4 separate regions of the Homo sapiens genome follow, and all the other regions are linked to region 2. Evidence: promoter capture Hi-C in human tissues and cell types (Jung and others, 2019). All regions are on one chromosome and are shown on one strand. The core of a region is centred on a gene start or on the middle of the fragment in contact, and the rest is flanking DNA. Distances in the headings are between cores, read along the strand shown.

Region 1 (3,044 bases), core at 114-2,613, 340 kb before region 2:
TCTCGCCATCAGGAGGCCCCTGCCCAGCTCTTCGGAATTCCTCCTCTGATTCAGCTGTGGCTTCTCTAGTTGGCCGGGGCCCAGCCCTCGCCCTGGTGAAGTTCAAGAGCTACATAAGCTGCCTGGCCTTGGATGTTCTTCTGAGAGTTTGGAAGGAACCCTCAGTCAGTTTCTGACAAGTTATTGGCAAAAGGAGATGAAACGCTTGCCAATTTGCTTCAGGCACCGAGCATGTTAACAGGTATTACACCAGGTGTTATTAATACGTTACTTACAACAAACCCAGTTTTCAACCTATTGTTTGGGTTATATAGAGTTATGGATTTTATACTTTACAAAGTACTGTATTTTTTCTAACTGACAAAACTTGGAATGTGTGTTGAAGAATTCAGTCCTCAAATGTGAGATGTATTTATTACAAATGAGTCTTATTTCAGAATCAGTTTGTGGGTTAAATGACCAATACCATTTCTTCAAATCAATCACTTGCTAAAGCCAAAGACTGGGACAGGTGTCACTCCCAGGGCTCAGCCAGTCAAGCTTACAGGAATGAGGTCAGTGCCCTGATGAAATGGCTTTCTTTTTCCTCTAAGGAAAGTCGACAGCTTTCACCCAAAGAAATTTCAGAGCTGGAAGGAATAGCTTTGAATGCTGTACACTTGGGGGCTTAGACAATGAATATGTAAGACACAGTAGTCCTAAAACCTTCCACCGTTCTTAGCAAGCACAGGGACTGTCTGCAATCTCATTGATGATGTGTAGCTATCCAGCCTAAAACAAAGTGCGCATTGGAAGTCAGAGAACAGGCAGGAAGGAAACGCTTCCACTCAGCCCAACCCTCAGCAAATTCCTAGAAGGGGGAGAATGTCTCCCTTAGGAAAGTGACCGTTTGATACATTCCCCACTGTGTACCTCGCACCCATGATTGCTTTAGCACTTTACCAGCCATCAGACCTACCAGCCTGAATACCACAAGCACAAACCGAACCAAACAAAACAAGGCCTCTGTCCAGCTCTATGGCCCTCCAGGCCCAGGACAGCAATTGGCTAACGGAGTGCCATGCGCACTACTGAGCTATTTCCAGACAACGTGATTTCTGAAGAAATGCTGCTCACTTTGCCTCTCTGTCCCCCTCAAATTACTTTAAAGTGGAGGTCTAGAATATATGTAAGTGGAAACTTTTTGGCTTACTCAAATTATACTCTATAAAGTTGTCTATTTATCTATGGGCTAGGGTTCCGAGCTGTGTGTCCTCAGCCAAGTTTACGTGTCCCGGAATAATAAAATCAGATAATAATCTCTACCTCACTTCCGATAGACTATGGCAGTGCAGGTTAGCTATGAATTAGGGACTCCACCCTTATTCGGCTTTGCCCCTAGACTCACCATGTAGCCTTGGCTAAATCACCTGCGTATCTGGGCTGATTTATTCAACCTCTTCAGACTATCATTATGTTGGATTAACCTAGGTTAATCCTAGAAAGGGTTTCCAGGAAAGGAAACCACAAACACACACAGACACACACACACACACATCACTATTATTCTAGTGTTCTCTTAACATTTTTAATATGAGTCAACGCTAAGGACATTGAGAATTGTCCTGAGTTTGAAGCTCCCATACATCTTTCTCTTTGGGCGAAGGTAACATGAGCTGCTTGACATCACTGAAATAAAAGAGATTTGGTCTAGATAAAAACTGATTTTAAAAAAAAAGGCAATCCAAGTTGTTCCTTCAGGAGTCACACTAGTCTGGCAACCGGTTGCCTCATGAATGTAACTGTGTCTGCTTTTCTTAAAGAACACTTGCCAATTTTCCTCTTCCCATCTAACACATGCACAAAAAAACTTCCCATTTTCCTCACCAGTTCCTTGACTGCATTTACTATCTGATGCAAGAAGAATGTGAACCCGTCCAAGAAACACAGGTAGGGAAGAGAGAGGAGTGAGAGACTAGCCTCGTTGCCTCCTCTTTTCCCCAGTACCTCTCAGATTCTGTACCTGGAAGGACAAACCCAGGAGGGCAGTGGGTGGAAACTGGCCTTTCTTGCAGGCAGCCTGGAAGAGCAGATGTTGAATTATTGAAAGTTCCTGGCTAAAAGAAGTGAAATATTAATGACCATATTATGGAGAGGAAGAAAACTTGACAATCCACACAGATTTGAACTATCTTTTCAGGAAGAAAGCTCAGTATACATGATTGAGTGCCCTCTGACACAGCTTGGAAGAAATGATCCCTTTGCTTATATGCACGCTCTGATTGCCAACTGCTGGGCTCTCTCCCGCCCCTCACTTCTGCTGGTTGCTGTGGATAAACAGTTTTCAGCTATGTTCATAAGCTCTATTTTCAGCATGTTCTTCCTTAACCCAGCTGCCTCTCCAGTGAAGATGTTTGCTGGCGGAGTCAATGATAACATTCCACTAGCTTCTAATTAAACACACGGAGCCAAGACTGATAAACTTCACATCCAGGCTGACTTATCACCTGAGTTGCCCCTGAGGTCTCTGATTCAATTTCCAGCTTCTCTGACCACACTAAAGCAAATTGGGTTAAAAATATTAGAATATAAAGTGTGACAGCCCAGGCTCTCATCTCACTTACCTCGTCCTGCTCCCAGAAGGAAGACTTCTACACAGAAAGGAGATATGCAGGGAAATGGAACAAGATGGCAATTTGATGGATAATAATAAATGATGTTTGAATGTTGAAAAATCAACTGCAAGTTACATATGGAGTTTGAGATGAATGATAATATGATAGAATAAATCTCAGCACTTTGGGAGGCCAAGGCAGGCAGATCACGAGGTCAGGAGTTTGAGACCAGCCTGGCCAACAAGGTGAAACCCTGTCTCTACTAAAGATATAAAAATTAGCTGGGTGTGGTGGCACATGCCTGTAATCCCAGCTACTCAGGAGGCTGAGGCAGGAGAATCACTTGAACCCAGGAGGCGGAGGTTGCAGTGAGCTGAGATCACGCCATTGCACTCCAGCCTGGGCAACAGGGCAAGATTCTGTCTTAAAATAAATAAATAAATAACAGTC
Region 2 (3,309 bases), core at 451-2,950:
CCTTGCCCGGGAAGGGCCCCGGGAGGAGCAACCTCAGGGCCTGCCTCTTGAGCTCCACCAGGCGGGCGTTGCAGTTCTCGCACCAGACGCCGCGGTCCGAGCCGGGGGAGGAGCCGCCGCCGCTGCCGGAGCCCGGGGAGCCTGTGCCGAAGCCCGGAGAGCCGCCCAAGGAGCCCGGCGAACTAGTGCCGATGCCGGGGGAGGCGGGTCCCGGGGAGCCGGTGAACGAGCTCGGGGACGAGGTGCCCGAGCCGGGAGACGGGGTCCCCGAGGAGCCGAGCGCTGAGCCCGCGCCCTCAGGAGTGGGCCGGCTGCCGGCGCGCGACTCCTCGTATGCTTTCCGGTACCAGCTTTCCGGGGAGAAGGGCGCTGCGGGCTTGGTGGGCGAGCAGACTTCATTCACCTGCGGGGAAGACACGCCGGTGTCAGGGGCTGCAAGGCGGCGGGCTGCAGCGCCCAGGAGCTGGGTCATACGTGCGCCACCAAGTACCCGCTCGAACCGCCCACGGGAGTCGGTTGGGGACCTCTCCAAGCCCTGCGGCCAAATTGCCCTCCGTCTGTCTCGTTAATTGTCCTTAAGTGAGTCCCCACCGCCCAGGTGACCCCTGCGCTGGTCCCCGGTGGCCTCCTCCTGGGGTCAGGAAGGGGACTCGCTCGGGGCCGTTTCCACGGCTTCTGCAAGGCGGGGGGGATCCATAGGTTCAGCGCCCCACGCTTTTGAAGCCGGCACCTATCCCAGCAAGATCCCGGGAACAAAATCCTGGAAGACCCTATGGGGGGGGTAGGGGGAGGGCTGTGATTTCAGGATTTTTATTCATACGGGGTCCAACTCTCCGGATCCTGCAGGTAAACGAGAGGCTCTCACGGCTCCAGCTAAACGATCCGAGGTACTGCCCAGCATTCATGGGAAACCCTCCCCTTCGGCTTCACTCTGCCTAGAAGTGCAGGAATGCGGCAAAAGTTACGGGTGCGTGGAAAGGAAGGAACGAGAGGGCTGAAAAAATTCCGAGAGCGAGGCGAGCGTGCGGGCGTCCCCGCGGCCGACCCGCCTCCGCGCACTCACAACCCCGCCAGCCCCGGGGGCGCCTCTGCAGCGGGGGAGAGCTCGGGGCCGGGGCCGCACGATCCCGGGGAAAGGGGGACCTCCGCCGAGATGGGTCTGGTAACGCGTCTCCGCGTCGTACCGTCACAACTTACCCCGTATTTCTTGCCCCTGGTGGAGACCGCAAGCCTCTCTTTATTCCCAGCTACCGAATTCATGGTGGCTTTTCCAGAGGAGAGTATCTAAAGGTTCCACCGACGCTACATCCAGAAGGTCCTCCAACCCAGAAGCGTCCCCCGGCTGCAGGGGGCTGGCTCTCAGCCCTCAGGGCAAGGTTTCTTCAGCGGTGGGGTGGGAGGGAATGAAAGCAAATGGATCCCACAAGTAATAGCACCAATTTGCAGAAAGGGTTGGGGTCGCTGGTTTATTCTTCTCTTCAAAGCATGCTTTTCCTCGTCCCCTTCTGCCTCTTCCAGCCGCACGTCCTCTTGTCACGGCCACATCCACAGAACTGGCATTTTCTTCAGCCAAGTCAGTCCGTGCTCCCCCACGAGGAAAGCGAGGGATACAATCAGGGCTCGCGGCCGCTGCCGGGAAGGTGGGAGAGCCGAGCCGAGTCAGCTGTGGGAACTTGTCTCCTTCACCGAGCTTGGTAACTGAGTTCAAAGAAATTCTCCCAAAATATAAAGATCCAGACTCGGGGAGGAGCCTCGGCGTGTCGCCGAGCCAATATCCGCCGGCCCGTTTCGCCTGACAGTTGCGCGAGGGCCGGGAGAGGGGCGGCTCCGCGTGGCCCGGGAGCGGTCGGCGGTCACAGCGCGCGTGTGCGCCCGGGCGCAGCGCGGAGGAGCCTCGGGAACCTGCCGCCCTCGCCGCGCCGGCCGGGATCCATTTTATGTGGCGGCGCTCGTGCCTGACATTGCGAGGCCTGGAGCCGGGCTGGGGCTGGGGGCGGGGGATCGTCGATCTCGCCGCGTGCGGGGAAGTTCCTGGCGCGCGGCCCGGGCCCGGGGCTCTAATGAAACGCCGCTGCGCGAGCCTGGAGCCCGGGGGCCGCGCGAGCGAGCGTGGCTGGACGGAAATGCGGTGCCCCAGCCTCCCCCGCCCCCAAGTTCTTTCTCTTCCTGACAAGGCTTGCAGGTCTGTCTGTGAAACGCCGTGCAAAAGGGATTGAGTCACAAACAAGTCCACAAACATGCCGGGTCCTCCCCCCGCCCTTTGTTCTCGGAGAGCTGCCGGGCAAACCTTTTCTGGAATTGCCCTACCGACCCCGGGCCGGCCGGGGGGCCACCCTCCCCGACCGCAGCCGCAGGACTAGGGCCCTTGGTCCCCCGCCCGCCCGAGCCCCGGTCTGTGATGGACTAAGCCGCCCGGGGCTGGGACAGGTGAGCCTGGTGACCCAGCGGGCCGCTGCCGGGCAGGGGAAACTGAGGGCTTCGCCGCGCTGCACGCGGACGACTCTGGCCTGGAGAGGGGGTGTGGCGCGAGCTGGCCTTGGCCTCTCCTTGCGTGGGATCGGGCCCCTCGCCCCCCGCCGCCCGTTTCTTCCTGCGCCTGGGCCCCGCGGGGTCTCCGGAGCACCCCGTCATCGCTCCCTCTCCGATCGCCCCCCGCCCCAGTCCCCCGGCGCAGCGCCCAGGAGCGCAGGAAGCCGGCGTATGCCAGGCTCCACACGTGGCTGCTCTGGGGTGTCATTTTTCATTTCACGGGAGGACATTTCTTCTGGTGAGCCAGCAGGTCTGTTTTGTTGTGACCTTTAATTAACACCCCGCGAGACGCCTCTGGAAGGACTGGCCGGGCGCAGGGATCACGTGGGGTGTAACGGCATCTCCGCGCCCGCGGGGAGACCCAGCCCGGGGGTGGGCGAGGGCGCGAAGGACGTTCAGGGCTTTCTGGTCGCTGACTTCCTTCTGAGCTGTGGACGACGCAGGAGGGGGCAAGAAGACAAAGGTTCGGGGTTCTGGAAGCCTGGGGCCACGCCCCCACTCTGCCTTCCTCGGGGACAATTTCTTCTGTGCCTCCCGTGCTCTGCCCCACTCCTCCCCGCTCCAGCTCCTGCGCGGGAATATTTCACAGCCACCAAAGCGAGGTAAAAAGGTCAAAAGGAAGATGGCAAGAACAGAGTGGACGTTTCCGTTACGTTCCCACTTCCAATTTAAAAGCGATCCTATCAATAGGGGACCTTAGGGGGCAGGTACACCTCCAGGCAGCACGCGCCAGCTCCCACCCGCATCTGTATTTCGCGTAGGTGCCGCGAAACACATCAT
Region 3 (3,061 bases), core at 251-2,750, 420 kb before region 2:
CAAAGTATATAAGTGAAATGACAGTAGCTCTTATCAGTAATAAGGGACTGTGCCTTGTGGCTAAGGTAGCCCCTTAAGCTATAAAGATGTGAGAAATGGCATTTTATCAACAAGGTATCCAACAAGGCATTCATTTAGAGAGAAGGAAAAAAATCCCAATTTCCAAATCCCAGGCTTCCACTTAGGAGAGGCTGGAGGGAAGTGATACACACAAACCCCTCCTGTCTAAACAATGTGCCAGACAGAAAAAGGCCAGAGGTGATTCGTGTGGAAATGGGTTTTTACAGGAGCTGCAATAAAGAACCCCCTTTCCCAAGCCCTACTGAAATGAAATGCTAGCTATATAATCAATGTCATGAAGCAGAAAAGGCCTGGGGAACACCAGGGAAACCTATCTACTGGCCAGGCACACGGAGTGCAGGTCCAGAGCTGGTGAGCAGGCTCTCTCACCAGGACGTGTGACAATCATCTCCTGCTGTGTAGCTTGGGGCCCCCTCCCACTGGGCTGTCACGCTGACAGAGGCTGACCTCACAGGTCTTCTTGGAGGGTCTCAGCATTGGTATTCATCCCTGAAAAATTCACTACACCTCCACAAACACAACTGATAGCAAATATGATTACAGGGAGTTCTGGGGGAGCTGAGGAGACAGGAGACGTGTTATGAAAGGGAAAATAAAACTCCCAAACCACCAACAATGACACTTCACGTATAGATGGCTGCCCAGTGGAATGGGAACGCTGCGTCCCGGTAACTCTGGAGTCTATGTTCAAGGAAGATCTAGATAATTTAGAAATATCAGTCTGGGCTCATGAGGATCACCTGCGCTTGTGATCCTCTGAGGCTTAATTGTTATATTTCATTCTTACAGTTTTCAGATTGGGAGAAAATGGGGCACTCAAGAGCCATTTGGACTTTTCAAAGGTCAGGGTCTGAAGAGCCTGATGCTTAGACACTGATAGGGACCCTGACTCTAAAAACCTTTGCAGGAGTGGAGGTGCAGGCATGGTGGGTGGGAGGTGTGATCTCTGGCTTAGACACCAGCATGAAACACCCCCGGGAAGCATCAGGAAATGTCTTAAGTAAATGCCAGGAAGGGGAGGAGGCAAATGAGAGAGTTCAGGCCACAGTTGCCTCATTTTCATAGTTCAAGAAGTCATTCATGAAGAATGTCACACACACACACAAAACAGATAGAAAAGGTAGCCTCTGCCAAGGTCTCCTTTCCTCGTATGGACATTTATGATATTATGATATTGACAGCACTAATAATATTGTGGATTTTAAATCTTCATTTCCCCAACATTCTCACCCACATGGTAATTTGGGTGATTTAGACAAGCCACTCTCTGAGGGGAAAGTTGGAGAATGCAGAAGTTAGTGCAGTCAGCAACTCCAGCAACCTGACATATCTAAGAGTTGGAATATCGAAGGAAAATCTAAAAACAGGTCAGTGAGTGAAATCTGACCTCTACCTAGCCATGAATAGATGATTGTTTTTATTTTTCTACATTTTTTTTTTGAGATGGAGTCCCACACTGTTGCCCAGGCTGGAGTATAGTGGCACGATCTCAGCTTACTGCAACCTCTGCCTCCCGGGTTCAAACAATTCTCCTGCCTCAGCCTCCCGAGTAGCTGAGACTACAGGTGTGCACCACTATGCCTGGCTAATTTTTGTATTTTTAGTAGAGATGAGGTTTCACCATGTTGACCAGGCTGGTCTCGAACTCCTGACATCAGGTGATCCACTCGCCTCTGCCTCCCAAAGTGCTGGGATTACAGGCGTGAGCCACCGCCCCCAGCCTACCTTTTTCTTTGAAAAAGATATAAAAGGCCAGGCGCGGTGGCTTGAGCCTGTAATCCCAGTACTTTGGGAGGCCGAGGCGGGTGGATCACAAGGTCAGGAGATGGAGACCATCTTGGCTAACATGGTGAAACCCCGTCTCTACTAAAAATACAAAAAAATTAGCCGGGTGTGGTGGCGGGCGCCTGTAGTCCCAGCTACTCGGGAGGCTGAGGCAGGAGAATGGCGTGAACCCGGGAGGTGGAGCTTGCAGTGAGCCGAGATCGCGCCACTGGCGCTCCAGCCTGGGCAACAGAGCAAGACTCTGTCTCAAAAAAAAAAAAAAAAAGAAAAAAAAAAGAAAAAGATATAAAAAAGACAATCTTCCCTAAAGAGCACAATTCCTATTTTCACCATTCTTTGAAAAGGAAGATGGTGATGTGCAGGGCATACTTGGGGCAACAGAGAAGCCACCCTGACTCCCCGTCACACCCACGATGTTAGTCACAACGTTAGGCAGTGCCTTGCCTGGCCTTTGCAACCAGGAGACTCAGGCAAGAGCAGCAGTCAACGGCCCTGCCATGGACTTGAGGGGCAGAAGGTGGACTCCAACACAGCCTGAACTCCAGAACCTTCCAGGGGAGACACCGGCCCTGGAGCAACCAGCCTGTTCATGGCTCAGCCAGCCTGGCCACACCTTCCTGCTCTCAGATCATCTTGCCTGGCTCAGTCCTTTGCTTCTTGGGCACTTATTCAAATTAAATGGTCTCGGTCAGGCATGGTGGCTCACACCTGTAATCCCAGCACTTTGGGAGGTCGAGGCGGGCAGACCACCTGAGGTCAGGAGTTCGAGACCAGTCTGGCCAACAAGGTGAAACCCCATCTCTACCAAAAATACAAAAATTAGCCTGGCATGGTGGCACATGCCTGTAATCCCAGCTACTCGGGAGGCTGAGGCTCAAGAATCGCTTGAACCCGGGAGGTGGAGTTTGCAGTGAGCCGAGATCACGCCACTCACTCCAGCCTGGACAACAGAGCGAGACTCCATCTCAAAAACAAATTAAATGGTCTCTAGGAACTACTGAGGTTGGATCTGAAACCACCAGCCAAACCAAAACATGTCAGTCCTCATTCTCAGATCTTAAAGCAGTCTTCCCTTACCCACGGTTTTGTTTTCCAAGGTTTGAGTTACCCACAGTCAACCTTAGTCTGAAAATATTAAGTGGAAAATTCCAGAAATAAATAATTCATAAGTTGTAAACTGCACACCATTCTGAGT
Region 4 (3,526 bases), core at 638-3,137, 510 kb before region 2:
ACCAACATTACCATCAGGCCCCTCCTGATGTACAACGTTCCCCGAAGAGGAACAGTCAGAACCACTGCTGTGCCCTCAATTTGAGGCCAAGACTCTGGCCAAGCCACTCAGACCCCGCTGTTAGCTGTGTCTGGGTTACCACCCCCAGGCTATCCTTATACTGATGCTGCACAGGTACAAAGGTCTCCAGAGCAAAAATGTTTGATCCCAACGGGATATTTGAGTTAAAAGGGCGGATAACCCTTTTAACTTGTCCGTACCATTTGGTACGGACAAGTTAAATACCTCTGGCATGTAAAAAAGGTGTTTCAAAAAGGGCCACAAGCGTCATCTCTGCTTGCCGAGGAAGCAGCCGCCTATGTGTTAGCCTTTGGGAGGTCTTGTTACAAAGCCTAAACCTGTCCCATCCTCATTCCTTTGCAGTAACACACAGAAAGCCTTATTCAAACAAATAAGCTACCTCCGATTGTTCATTCAACAAGCATGTATTAAGAACCTAGGGTACAGGAACCCCTCCAAGGGCTTTAATTCGGCTGACCAGTTGCTCACTTGCCTAGAAGTCTCAGTGTATGCCTATCACCCTGCATCCTGTCTGGTTTATTTTGTCCTGGATTTTTCATTTCTTTATTCAAAATACAAGTAGTTATTACTAAGACTTATTAAAATGAGATGGAAGAATTGGATAGACTTTCACTTTCTATTTCAGTGGTCTCATCTAGGAACATATGAGGTTATGTGCAGTGAACAGAGTTAGCACTTTAAGACATAATGTCAGGAGTTCAAGACCAGCCTGGCCAATATGGTGAAACCCCATCTATACTAAAAACAAAAAAAATTAGCCAAGTGTGGTGGCACCTGCCTGTAATCCCAGCCACTTGGGAGGCTGAGGGAGGAGAATTGCTTAAACCCAGGAGGCAGAGGTGCAGTGAGCTGAGATTGCACCACTGCACTCCAGCCTGGGCGACAGAGAGAGACTCCGTCTCAAAAAAAAAAAAAAAAAAAAGGACATAATGTTCCAGCCAGGAGCAGTGGCTCATGCCTGTAATGCCAGGACTTTGGGAGGCTGACCGCGGGTGGATCACTGGAGGTCAGGAGTTTGAGACCAGCCTGGGCAACATGGTGAAACCCCAGCTCTACCAAAAATACAAAAATTAGCTGGGCATGGTGGTGCGTGCCTGTAGTCCCAGCTACTTGGGAGGCTGAGGCAGGAGGATCACTTGAACTCGGGAAGCGGAGGTTGCAGTCCTGGGTGATGGAGAAAGACTCAGTCTCAAAAAAAATAAAAAATAAAAAAAAGATATAATGTTCCAAGCTGAGAAACTTATTATGCTGAAATGTACCTGTAATTGATGTACCTATGTAATTCATAACTGAGCTCAAACACAGTTCTAATTCTACCCAGAGAAGCACAAGCTATAGTTTTTGAAATGTGTAAAATTTACATAAACTGAGAGTAACTGAACTACAAAAATTTTTTATGAAGTTTAAATTGGATTAAAAACATTTCATCAGTAGAGTGTGCGGTTCTCTCTTTGCTGCCTGTCAAGTTGGATTTGAGAAATATTTGACACTTGAAATAATGAAATGATAGGAAATTGCTGACATTAGGCAGCTTTTAACTTTAAAACATACTTCATGAGTCAATCCAAATGCTCTACAAAAAAAGTACTCCAGTTTTGGAAACAAGTCATCTAAATTTTGATGGCTTGTGGTTCAAAATAAGTTGTAATCCATAATCAAGTGTTCAACCAATGAAACACAAAAAGCTCAGCCTCTGAAGCCTGTAATGAATTGCAATGATTAAAAACAAAATTTGCAAACAGGGGACCCTGAAATATAGATGACAAGAGCTCAAACTGTATAGAAGATTAAAATGTGAAATTCTACAAGTATGCTCTGGAAATTGACTTGTGGGAAGATCCTTTGAAACTTTAACACACAATATTCTCACTGAATTGAGAAATGTATTTCACTGAAATAAACTTGTAATTGGTGGTTGTATGAATAAATTCACACTTATTTTTAAACAAACTGTGATATTCTATCAAGAGAAACAGAAGCCACAGTTATCAAAAACAGATGGTTTGATGTGTTAATGCACATAAACATATATGTAAATATATAGGTAAGGCAGTTGGATTATGTGAAGGAGAAAAACGCCCTGACATTAACAATAGAAAAAATAGTGTTAAGAAAAATACTACTGAAGTGGTATTAGAAGATAGTGAAGACAATGATTAAAATACACAAAAGTATATTAAGTGATTATTCTGCTTATTTTTTAATGTCCAGATAAACAATATAAAGCAGTTTTAACCTTTTTCTACTTTGATGTATTTTCTTTTATTAAGAAAGCATTTCATGTTTGAAAGTAATTTTTGAATAGAACTGTTTTATAGGTTCACCAATATAGACGGCTGTGTCAGAAAATATTTCAAAACATGAAATAATAATAATTAAGTGTCCCTTTTCACTCTCAAAAGTGGCTTCGATAATAAGTTATATGATCTCCTTACTTATTTAAAAGAAGGAGAGGTGTGTAACAGGAGAAAAAAAAAAGCAAAGGAGCAATATGATAGGCTGGGTTCCTAGGAAAACCTTCTTACCAAGTACAGTTAAATGTTGTGGATTTTTTTTTTTTTTGAGATGGAGTTTCACTCTTGTTGCCAAGGCTGGAGTGCAATGGCGTGATCTCGGCTCACTGCAACCTCCACCTCCCGGGTTCAAGCGATTCTCCTGCCTCAGTTGCTGGGATTACAGGCGCCCGCCACCATGCCCGGCTAATGTTGTATTTTTACTCGAGACAGGGTTTCTCCATGTTGGTCAGGCTGGTCTTGAACTCCCGACCTCAGGTGATCTGCCTGCCTCGGCCTCCTAAAATGCTGGGATTACAGGCGTGAGCCACCATGCCCGGCCGTGGATATTATTTTTAAGTCTTAGTAAATGCATTGTTGAACCTGCAAAAAGGTAAAGAATCCTCAGGCCAAAAAAAAGCAAGTGAAGTTGGGAACTCAAGATAAATAAGCAGAACAGGCAAGCTTTCTTTCACCCCAAAGACATCTGCCCAGCCAGGTAACACCCTGCTGAGTTTTATGTGGCAGCAGTCAAAGCTGGAGGCCTGCTCCACATGTGAATTTTCACAGGAAAATCAACCCCCAATAATTGTCCCTTGTAGGTATTCAAGACATGACTGTCTTGAAATAAGCACTGAGCAGAGGGGAAAGAAACTGTCCTGAGAATTGCGAACCCTGGTCTGAATTACATGCAGGTTTGCACGCTTAGTTCTCCATATCTGGGTGGTCAAAAATATTTCAAGCTGAGAATGTAGTTTAGACTATCCTCAACTGGCACCTGGTAGAAGTAAACACAAATGCTGTCTGGAGTAAACTATCTTTATCCCAGAGCTTGCAGAATTCTCACAAATAAAATGCCAGTGAAAATGAGTAGCCCCCAGACACAAATAAACAAAGAAACACGGCACCATGAGAAAGAGCCAGCAGAAACCACAGATGCAAGAATGAGATGT

The links. Contacts are between HindIII fragments. The study calls those that stand out against the background at their distance.
Region 1: a fragment that was not itself captured here is called in contact with the fragment with the promoter of KIF26B in region 2 in 1 of the 25 tissues and cell types used here (lymphoblastoid cells).
Region 3: a fragment that was not itself captured here is called in contact with the fragment with the promoter of KIF26B in region 2 in 1 of the 25 tissues and cell types used here (bladder).
Region 4: a fragment that was not itself captured here is called in contact with the fragment with the promoter of KIF26B in region 2 in 1 of the 25 tissues and cell types used here (heart right ventricle).

Annotation. Positions count from the first base shown.
Region 1 is chr1:245,497,738-245,500,781 of GRCh38, reverse strand. The region is part of intron 4 of KIF26B (kinesin family member 26B); the gene reads right to left. Among named protein-coding and RNA genes, the nearest start is that of KIF26B-AS1, 260 kb to the right of the region's middle. The HindIII fragment of the contact is 4,253 bases long and covers 1-3,044 here.
Region 2 is chr1:245,153,376-245,156,684 of GRCh38, reverse strand. KIF26B (kinesin family member 26B) reads right to left here and starts at 1,700. Exons shown (of 15, transcript NM_018012.4): 1 at 1,198-1,700; 2 at 2-403. The coding sequence starts at 1,260. RefSeq lists silencers at 1-291, 2,159-2,358 and enhancers at 2,213-2,888, 2,889-3,309. The HindIII fragment of the contact is 11,465 bases long and covers 1-3,309 here.
Region 3 is chr1:245,573,935-245,576,995 of GRCh38, reverse strand. The region is part of intron 5 of KIF26B (kinesin family member 26B); the gene reads right to left. Among named protein-coding and RNA genes, the nearest start is that of KIF26B-AS1, 340 kb to the right of the region's middle. The HindIII fragment of the contact is 4,893 bases long and covers 1-3,061 here.
Region 4 is chr1:245,663,477-245,667,002 of GRCh38, reverse strand. All of the region lies in intron 10 of KIF26B (kinesin family member 26B), which reads right to left. LOC105373265 (a long non-coding RNA gene) reads left to right here. Exons shown (of 6, transcript XR_007066988.1): 6 at 1-840. Among named protein-coding and RNA genes, the nearest start is that of KIF26B-AS1, 430 kb to the right of the region's middle. The HindIII fragment of the contact is 6,064 bases long and covers 1-3,526 here.